Regions from separate parts of the Homo sapiens genome. Here all the other regions are linked to region 1. The links are contacts of gene promoters, found by promoter capture Hi-C in blood cells and fetal thymus (Javierre and others, 2016). All regions are on one chromosome and are shown on one strand. The core of a region is centred on a gene start or on the middle of the fragment in contact, and the rest is flanking DNA. Distances in the headings are between cores, read along the strand shown.

The links. Contacts are between HindIII fragments. The CHiCAGO score rates a contact against its expected background, and 5 or more counts as called.
Region 2: a contact is called between a fragment that was not itself captured here and the fragment with the promoter of SSH2 in region 1, in 16 of 17 cell types (naive CD4 T cells, total CD8 T cells, megakaryocytes and 13 more). The highest score is 18.6, in naive CD4 T cells.
Region 3: a fragment that was not itself captured here is called in contact with the fragment with the promoter of SSH2 in region 1 in 11 of 17 cell types (M2 macrophages, naive CD4 T cells, fetal thymus and 8 more); the score reaches 10.1 in M2 macrophages.

What each region holds. Positions count from the first base shown.
Region 1 is chr17:29,928,661-29,931,779 of GRCh38, reverse strand. SSH2 (slingshot protein phosphatase 2) reads left to right here and starts at 1,552. Exons shown (of 16, transcript NM_001282129.2): 1 at 1,552-1,842. The coding sequence starts at 1,780. It also overlaps a transcript of EFCAB5 not described here. RefSeq lists silencers at 370-539, 1,273-1,362, 1,513-1,792, 2,303-2,352. The HindIII fragment of the contact is 8,919 bases long and covers 818-3,119 here.
Region 2 is chr17:29,809,914-29,813,032 of GRCh38, reverse strand. The region is part of intron 2 of SSH2 (slingshot protein phosphatase 2); the gene reads left to right. Among named protein-coding and RNA genes, the nearest start is that of SSH2, 120 kb to the left of the region's middle. RefSeq lists an enhancer at 2,929-2,988. The HindIII fragment of the contact is 1,021 bases long and covers 1,168-2,188 here.
Region 3 is chr17:29,825,853-29,828,971 of GRCh38, reverse strand. All of the region lies in intron 2 of SSH2 (slingshot protein phosphatase 2), which reads left to right. LOC124900390 (a long non-coding RNA gene) reads left to right here. Exons shown (of 2, transcript XR_007065694.1): 2 at 1,258-3,119. Among named protein-coding and RNA genes, the nearest start is that of SSH2, 100 kb to the left of the region's middle. The HindIII fragment of the contact is 2,473 bases long and covers 211-2,683 here.

The DNA.
Region 1 (3,119 bases), core at 303-2,802:
ATAAAGCACATATATTTCATTTATTTGAGTTCATTCAGCTTCTAGCTATGTGTATTTTTTGGCTATGTATCTAGTTTCCTCTTTGGTCTCCCATGCATTGGTTCAAAGTTCTTACTTCTGAAACTTGCCTTCTCTTTTCCTGTTTACTACGGAGCTCTGGGGAAAACACAGTCAGATTGTTTAATCTGTGAACCATACATCTTTGTTTAATTTTGTCTCACAGGCACTCCTGATCACCACCAGGGGGCAAAAGCCTACCAGCTGGCTTCTCTGCACTACACTCTACATAGGACTGTACAGTACAGGGACCCTCAGTGTCTGATTCTTGATGGAACCTCCCTGCTAATTATTTCAACCACAGGGCCCCAGGGAGAGAACAAAGGCTCAGCACAGAGGACTCTTGTGGCGTTTAACCGTACAGCAGCCAGAAAGAGCTCATGACAGCCCTGTCAGTTTAAAAGAAGCAATGAGATCCAAGAGTGTTTGAGTGACAAACAGGAGGGGGTGGGTTTTAATAACTGCAAACTCCCAAGTGTGTGTGTTTTCTACAGCTTTGATATGTACGGTGGTATTTACCAGCTCATCCACTCAAGCTGAGAAATAGCCTTGTCAACTCTCTTTCTTTGTGTAAATAATCAGTGATATTTGCATTGTGCAATTTTTTTCCTTTTTAATCTTGATTTTCCATTACATTCTTTGCTTATGTTCTGCAGACAATTTACCCCTGAGAAAACCATTCCCTTAAAATATCTTTTAATCTACATTTTTACATAGGTCTATGAAAGAATGACATTTAGAGACGAAGGAGAAGAAAGCTTAACGAGCAAATCCTGTTTAATTAAAAGACTGTCTTCACAGCAGGAGGCAAGTGAGAGGTCAATAGCAGGCTGGACCCTCACAACCGGCTTCCTCGGACTCCCAGGCGCGCTCAGCTTCTCTTCTCCTCAGGAATAATGAATAAGTCTTTAGACAGGCAATAGAGGAAGCATGAGGGTACCACAAACCTTTCCAGGGTATCAAACGGAAAATGGTTTTCTTTCCAGAAGTCTCATCATAAAACATAGACGGAAGGGGGGGAAAAGTTAAGAAAAAGCCCCCGAGAGCCGGGGTGAAGGGAGTAAACTGGTCTAGCCCAGTTCTGTCTGCGCCCAGTGAGAGGGTTTGAAACTCCGCGGAGCCCTTTCCCAATAGAAAACGTGTTTGCTTCAGGATTTTCATCTCAGCTGCTTTTTTTTAAGGTTGGTTAAGCTGTGCGCCGCCCCACCTCATAAAATGGTTGTCTCTCAGGAGTGAAGACTCCAGCGGCCCCCCGCCCTGGGACCCCTCACCGGGCTGGCTCCCTTCGGCCCCTTCCCCCACCCCACTCCACAGCACCCAGTGCTGGCAAACCGCGCGATTCCAGCACGAAGGAGGAAACCCAGGAGGGTGCGGCGGCCCGAGGCGCACGCACTCGGCCAGCTTCCGGCAACTCAAGGGTTACGACCAGGCGGCGGCGCGCGCCGAGGGGAGAGGCGGTAGCTGACAGGTGGCGCCTGCGCACTGGGAGCGCTCATTGTGCCCCGCAGCTGCGGAACCGCCCGCCCGCCGCCCGTTCGGAGCGTCAGTCGGCGACAGTCTGGTGGTGGGTGCGGAGTCTGCGGCCGTTCCCGCGGCCTCCTCCTCCTCCCCGTTCCCTTCACCCCCACCCCGCACCCCTTTCCCCATCCCGGCTCCGTCACCCTCCCGTCCCCCACACTCAGGACAAGAATGCCCTGCCCGGAACAACCCAGCAGCGCCTAGATGGCTTTGGTCACGGTCCAGCGGTCACCTACCCCCAGCACCACCTCCAGCCCCTGCGCCTCGGTGAGTCCTTCCTGGCGGCCGCTCCGCTTGCTTCTGTCACTGCGGCTCCGCTTTGCCTCAGCGGGTCCCGCCGAACGCCACTGCGCACGCGCCGCGCCGCTTCCCAGGCCTTGGCACTCGGCTGCCGCGAACCCCCCCACACCCCCATGTTAAAGACTAGCAGCAGGAACTACAAGACGTTGATTTTTGCCCCCATCACCCTGAGCACCTAGCTCCTCACAATCCTCGCCCTGAAATCCCCTGTGGCATGCCTCCCTATGGCTTGAGCACTTCCTTTTGGTAATGAGTCATTCTTGCTTTTCACCCTCCCCCTTCTTTTACCCTCTGTTGCTCTGCTGCAGGGAGGGGACCGTGAGCCTCCTGCGTTGCCCCTTACCCACACCCACATCTCTTACCCACACCATTTCATAGACCTGTTCAGTATTTGCACACTGCACACCCTTCTTCGTACTCGCCAGGGTGTGTGCCTTCCCCTAGTCACTTGCTGGCTTTCTTTTGCTCTGTACTGTTCAGGCTTTGAACTGCCCAACCGTAGTTATTCCTTGGTTTCTCCCGCCTGCCCCCCACCCCAGAGGGTAGCAATGATCTCTGTTTCCTGGACCTCTTACCTTTCCTTTATGAGGTCCCGAAGCATCTGGTGCTGCTTAGTGATCAGTGTCAAATTATTTCCGTCTTACAGATATTTATGCCTTACACTCATTGCTCGTGATCATTCTTGTTCTAAGGTCGTGTTTGTATGGCTCGTTACCTCAGATGCCTATGCCAATAAAGCATGCTCTCAGAAGGAAAATACCCAGTAACCAGCCTTTCCCCGCTGGGCCCGTCTTTGCCTTCTCTCCTCGCCCCACCCCCATTCGTTTACACTCCATTCTCTTAGGCTCCATTTTTGAAAATATTTATTTTTAAAAACAATATATTGCACCAGTGGGGCAAATGGGCTTTAAAAAACCAACATCCAGATGTTTTAGAGAGAAATAAACTGAGTGAAAATGCGAGCAACTGGGAAAACCACCTTGAACTTCCTACAGAACTGTAATTTTAAAAACGGTGTTGGTGGATTTGGTAGTATCAGGTTGCAAAAAAAGGTATTTAATAAACACTGTACCACTTTCCACTGTAAAAAAATCATCAGGTTACCCTTAATATTTGTATGTTAACTGAGGTGTGAGCTTTGATATCCTGAAATTTGCTGGCTTGTCATTTCAGTATAATTTCCTGAATTTCAAAGTTTTGTTGTGTATGGTTGTGGTTTCTTCTTTTCTGAGCTTTAATTGCAT
Region 2 (3,119 bases), core at 429-2,928, 120 kb after region 1:
TCTTTTATATACGGTGAAAATCTTTTCGTTGGACTTTAAATTTTGTTTTTTATTTTTATTTTTTCTTCTCCCTCTCTCTGTATACACTTTTGGTTTTGAATATATGGCATGGTTGGTTTTTTGTTTGTTTGTTTGTTTGTTTTTGTGACGGAGTCTTGCTCTGTCACCCAGGCTGGAGTGCAGTGGTGTGATCCCGGCTCACTGCAAGCTCCGTCTCCTGGTTCTCGCCATTCTCCTGCCTCAGCCTCCCGAGTAGCTGGGACTACAGGCGCCCGCCACCATGCCCAGCTAAATTTTTATATTTTTAGTAGAGACGGGGTTTCACCGTGTTAGCCAGGATGGTCTCGATCTCCTGACCTCGTGATCCACCCGCTTCGGTGTCCCAAAGTGCTGGGATTACAGGCATGAGCCATCGCGCCCGGCTGGCATGGTTTTAAAATGCATAAATAGGCTGGGCGTAGTGGCTGACACCTGTAATCCCAGTGCTTTGGGAGACCAAGGCAGGAGGATCGCTTGAATCCAGGAGTTCAAGACCAACCTGGGCAATAGAGTGAGCTGTCATCTCTACAAAAAATTAAAAAGTTAGTCAAGCATGGTGGCATGTGCCTGTAGTCCCAGCTACTCAGGAGGCTGAGGTGAGAGAATCACGTGAGTCTGGGAGGCAGAGGCTGCAGTGAGCCAAAATTGTGTGACTGCACCCCAACCTGGGCAACAAAATAAGACCCTATCTTCAAAAAAAAAGGCAGAAATATATATTTTAAAAAACATAATTGTGTGAAGATACTAAAAACATTGAATTGTATACTTTTAATAGGTGAATTGTATGGTATATGAATTATTTCTCAATAAGACTTAAAAAAAAAAAAAAAAAGAACACATACTATGGCCAGGTATCAGGGTATAAAAATAAGACACAGTCCCTGTTTCAAAAGGTTCACAGTTTAATGAATGAGTCTTTTTTTCTTATTTTTCATGAGGGTTAGAGATAAGTATTACCACTTGCTCCCTGACAACAGTTCTTATGTTGGATATATGTAATCTCCTCTTTTATATAAAAATCATAAATATATTTAAATGTAAATTAAAATAGTCGATAGAAAATCAAACTCTTTAGATATTTTTATACTTGAGATTATACAAATTCTTAGAGAATTAGGTGGTGAAGCTTGCATTAAATTATTTGGTTCATGCCTGTCCCAGCATTTCAAGAGGCTGAGGTAGGCAAATTACTTGAGCCTAGGAGTTCAAGACCAGCCTAGACAACATAGTGAGACTCTGTCTCTACAAAAAATAAAATTTAGCTGGGCATGGTGGTGCACACCTGTAGTCCCAGCTAGTTGGGAGGCTGAGGTGGAAGGATCACTTGAGCCCAGGGGTTCAAGACAACAGTAAGGTATGATCGCAACAGTGCACTGCAGCCCGGGCAACAGAGCTAGACTCTGTCTCCAAGAAAAAAAAAAACTTGTGGTTCACATTTCATTTATAAGTATTTCTATCTTATTTGTGAGTGGAAGCACTTGTTTACGTAACTTCAATGAATAGCTTTTTACATTTTTACTCTTTGAAAAGTGATTATTAAATGAAAAAATATATAAAAATTTATTTTTTAAAACTGCAATAAACCAGTTAATATCAAAATAAATATATAGAAATGATTTGCTATTGTATATTGCCGGCAATAACCATTATATATTACGTAATATATAATATAATCAAATGTAATATTAAAAAGTTCCTGGCCAGGTACAGTGGCTCACACTTGTAATCCCAGCATTTTGGGTGGCTAAGGAGGATGGATCACTTGAGGCCAGGAGTTCAACACCAGCCTGGCCAACATGGCAAAACTCCATCTCTACTAAAAATACAAAAATTAGCCAGGTGTGGTGGTGCGCACCTGTAGTCGCAGCTACTCGGGAGGCTGAAGCAGTAGAATCGCTTGAACCCAGGAGGCAGAGGTTGCAGTGAGCCGAGATTGTGCCACCGCACTCCACCTTGTGCAACAGAGCGAGACTCTGTCTCCAAAAAACAAACAAAAAAAGAATTTTCTTGGGCCACATATAAAATACACTAATGATAGCCGATGAGCTGAGAAAAAAAATTACAAAAAAAAATCATAATGTTTTAAGAAAGTTTACGAATTTGTGTTGGGCCACATTCAAAGCCATTCTGGGCATGGGTTGGACAAGCTTGTTCTAAAGGGATTTTTAGGGTGTTGAAAACCTAACAAAGTCATTTGGAAGACTAAGTGGGTGAAATTGTGCACTCAAAATTAAAAGATGAGATTCTCACAGTCACATATTGAAAACAATTATAAGCTAATAATAGCATGGTGTACAAGAAAGATGTTGCCTAGAAGGCCCAGAAATAGACCTTAGTACATGAAAATATTTAGTGTATGATTAAGGTAGAATTTCAAGTCAGTTGGGGAAAATGGATAAATAGCCAGGTAGTGCTGTAATAACAATTAACTATTTGGGGAGAAAATTAAGTTAGATAGCTCTATCTTCAACCATATACCACAATAAATTGTAGATGAATTAATGAACTATTTTCTGGGAAACTTATTTAAATATGCAAGTTAAAAAATAGAAGCTATAAAGATTGCTAGATATGACTATCTAAAATAAAATAAATAGAACCCACTTCTAAAAGCAGATGATGATGATTAGTTCCCTAATTTATGATTATTATTGACAACATTGACCCATTCATCTTTGTTTCTATGAGAATTCTGTTGTGCAGTCTCTAAAATGGTTGCGTATGTGAAAATGTGGGATGGCTATAGCTAAGAATATTCTTGTTTGAGGAATTACTATCTTTTTGTATTTTAAATCAGGGTGTTTGCAGACTGAATCTACATTATAGAAAATGGGGCACCTTGGTTGGAGAATCTGTCCTACAATACTTGTTCTTTCTTTTACATTAGTCATTTATTCAAAATTTTTATTCAGCATTGCTAGGTGCTGAGTATACAGCAGTGATCAAGAGACAGTTCCTGCCTTCAAGCTTATAATATGGAGACCAACAAGTAAACAGGCAGTGTGAGAATTGCTACACTAGAGAACTGTAGAGGGAGTATGGTTGTATTTGGAAAGACCGTGGAACCCAGTCCTAGAGGG
Region 3 (3,119 bases), core at 198-2,697, 100 kb after region 1:
GTCATTTGGAGATGGAAATGGAAGCAGAAGGGTTGCTTACTTTAACGCCACTGGGGTTTTGCTTTGAAGCTGGCTTTTCACAAACACCAATGAAAAGGTTCTGTCACTTGCAGGAAATGACAGAATGTAGTTAGTTGCTTGGAAATGTCTGTGTGTCTTTGTTTCCCACAATACTAGGTAACGTCTGTAATTATACTGCTGAACAAAGCTTCAGGTTGATCAAGGTTAATTGTTGATAGTATTTGAAATGTTAATAATGTCTCCCCAAAAACTGCTTTACCAAAATAGATTGTTCTAGCTTCACAAAGGATTTAAATACCATTGATTTATTTCATTCAGCAATATGTAATTCTAGGCCTGGAAACTGGGATCTTCTGATTTAATATTTTCTAAGGAATTGGTACCCAGAAAATGTGTATTCTCTTCTGCTTTAAAGTTTGGCAAATCACTTGCTTCCAGGGATTCTCACTGTCTTTAGCCTTTTCTCTAAAACACACATTTCTGCTTTTGATCCATTTTTGTGGAACTAGGAAGAGGGGTTAAAGCATGCCATCTTTCTGTAGGAGTCCTAGGGAGTTTTGAGTGGTTGGGAATCTATTCTAAAAGTTCACAGTAGATTCAGACCCTGCTGAGAAAGTCTTTACTTTGTATTTAAATTTGTTGTGTAGCTTAAGAAGATAAAAGAGCAGGATTCTTAAGGGGGTTTTGCTGCCAAGTGCTACGAAAGGAAAAATTAAAAGTTTCTTGTGTAGTCAATGAGAGTTCATTGCAATCAAGATCACTTACTGAATTTGTTAAAGACTTCCTGTGATGGCAGGGTTCACAGATGATCAATAATTCTGTTTTTGTAAATACAGGTGAGTTTTGTATCTTATCCTTTATCTAGTCTAACATGATGGCTCTACCTCCATGGCTGCCTTTTCTGTTACTTAGTTCTCTAAGTGAAGAACCAAAAGCATCAGCTAAATTGTTCTAGTAATTAGGAGAGTGTTAGGAATTGGCTAGAAATACAGCTTAACCCAGCTATGGCAGGAAGGTAAGCAGAGGTTCTATCATATGTAATTATCCTCTTTAAAATGGTTAAGAAATGTATTAGATAGCATTACTACTAAAACCTAAGGCTTATATTGATTTAGAAAAACATTCACATTACAGATATTGTAGCTATGCTGGGGTTTTTTTTTTTTCTGTACTCATTCATTCTATTTATTTTTTCCCTAAATTATTTCTTCATTGTTTTGTGTTTGTCCTTTCCAGCTTCAAAAAGCTATACTGAGGGATATGCCAAGTCATAATGCATATTACCTGGAACTTCCTGGAAACCAAGCATTTTATTCCTGTGGAAATGTGTTTAGCCAAGTTTTAGAAGAATGACAAAGTGAGAAAACCAAATTTATTTTTATTGCTGTTGACTATTACTTAAAATAGGAAAAGGAGCTTAATTCTTGGGCTTCTTTATCACTAACTTAGTATGTTCCAAGCACTGTTCTAGTTGCTTGAGATACAAAAACAAAAATTGCTGTCCTTCTGAAGTTAGTAATCTGATGCCTGTTACCATTTCACCCTCTGCCCCTGCCAAGGAAACAATCAAACTGGGATTTAAATCCTAGCACTACTATATGCTGTCTGTGACTGGGAAGTCATTTATCTTCTTTGAGCCTTTTACTAGTAAGAAGCCTGGTAATCATGTTGCCATTTTATCATTTATATAAGCATCTCAAGAATAATTTGTTAGCAGTTCATTCTGCAAGAGGGAATTTCCTTGTAACTTGCTTGGATTTGTACTCAGAAGTGCCTTATGCAAAATAAGTTAAAGAAGTTTTGTCCCAGCATTTACCCATATGTGTTCCCTAGTGTGTATTTTTACAATTGACCTGGCTTAACATCAGCAACAATTTGTAGTATGACACCAAGACTACATAGGTTTATATTTATGGAATTTAGTCTCATACATGTCATCAGAGTTGAGGGGAATGATGAAGGAAATGAAAAAGTCGAGCTCTCTTGGTAGGTAGCTGCTACCTTTTGGTATAGTCTTCATCTTTTCCTTTTGGGAACTGTGTCTACTTTACTCCATCTGATTCTGGTAGGGCTGAGAATCACTCGGCCTTGCTTTTCTACCACTGGATGGTCATATGTCCATAGACCCATGTCAGGCTGGTCAATCAAAGCACTCCTCTTCCCTGGATATTATGGTGGCACATGACCCAAGCAGGGCCACTGTCATTTTGAGAGATGGATATAGGTCTCTCTGGAGGTAAAAAGGGTTAATTTTTTTCTGGACTCTGATTAAAAGGATGATATATGCTTAGTGTGGTAGGTGGTCATCTTACCACCACACAGAGACAGTCTACCTAAGAATAAGAAGAAAGCAAAGTCAAAGAGAAAGAGTGGAAAATAAAGACCTAATAACATCAATGCATTTCTGAATCCCTGTTGAATTTACCAGTTAAATAAACTACTATGTTTTTTGTTTCTCTTGAGTCAGATTGCTTGCAACTGAAAGCATCTTGTATAATACAATATCCTTATCTATGATTGTAGTCATCGTTTGCATTTGTCAATATTTTTGGTTCTCCTTCTCCATACTGGTAGGATTATGTTTCCTTGGGAACTGACATGGTCATGTGACTGTTTCGGCAAACAAAATATAAGTGGTTTTTGTCACTTCTAGGTGGAAGCTTTTAAGTCTTAAGAGCTGTTGCATAATTCATTATATTCCATTTTCCCTGTCACAGTGACCAGTCAAGATGAGAGAGAACAACATGGAACAGAATATCCACCAACCTAGGATGGACATGTAACATAAATGAGAAACTGTTGTTTTCAGTCACTAAGATTTTGATGCTTTGTGTTTTTGCAGCCCCTCTGACTAATACCTGTATGGAATACATTGTTCTATATTAAATTTTTCTAAACACTTCAGGTGAAAAAATATCTTAATATAACATCTAAAAACATGAATGTCTACAGAATTAGGTTATTAAAATATTTAATATATGTAGCTATTCTTGTTCAGAATTAAGAGTAGGCCAGAGGTAAGCAGCAGTATTTCCTGGTTTACCATACAGGAACTAAACCTGCTTTTAGGGCTGTGACCTCTGACCAAATTATAGTTT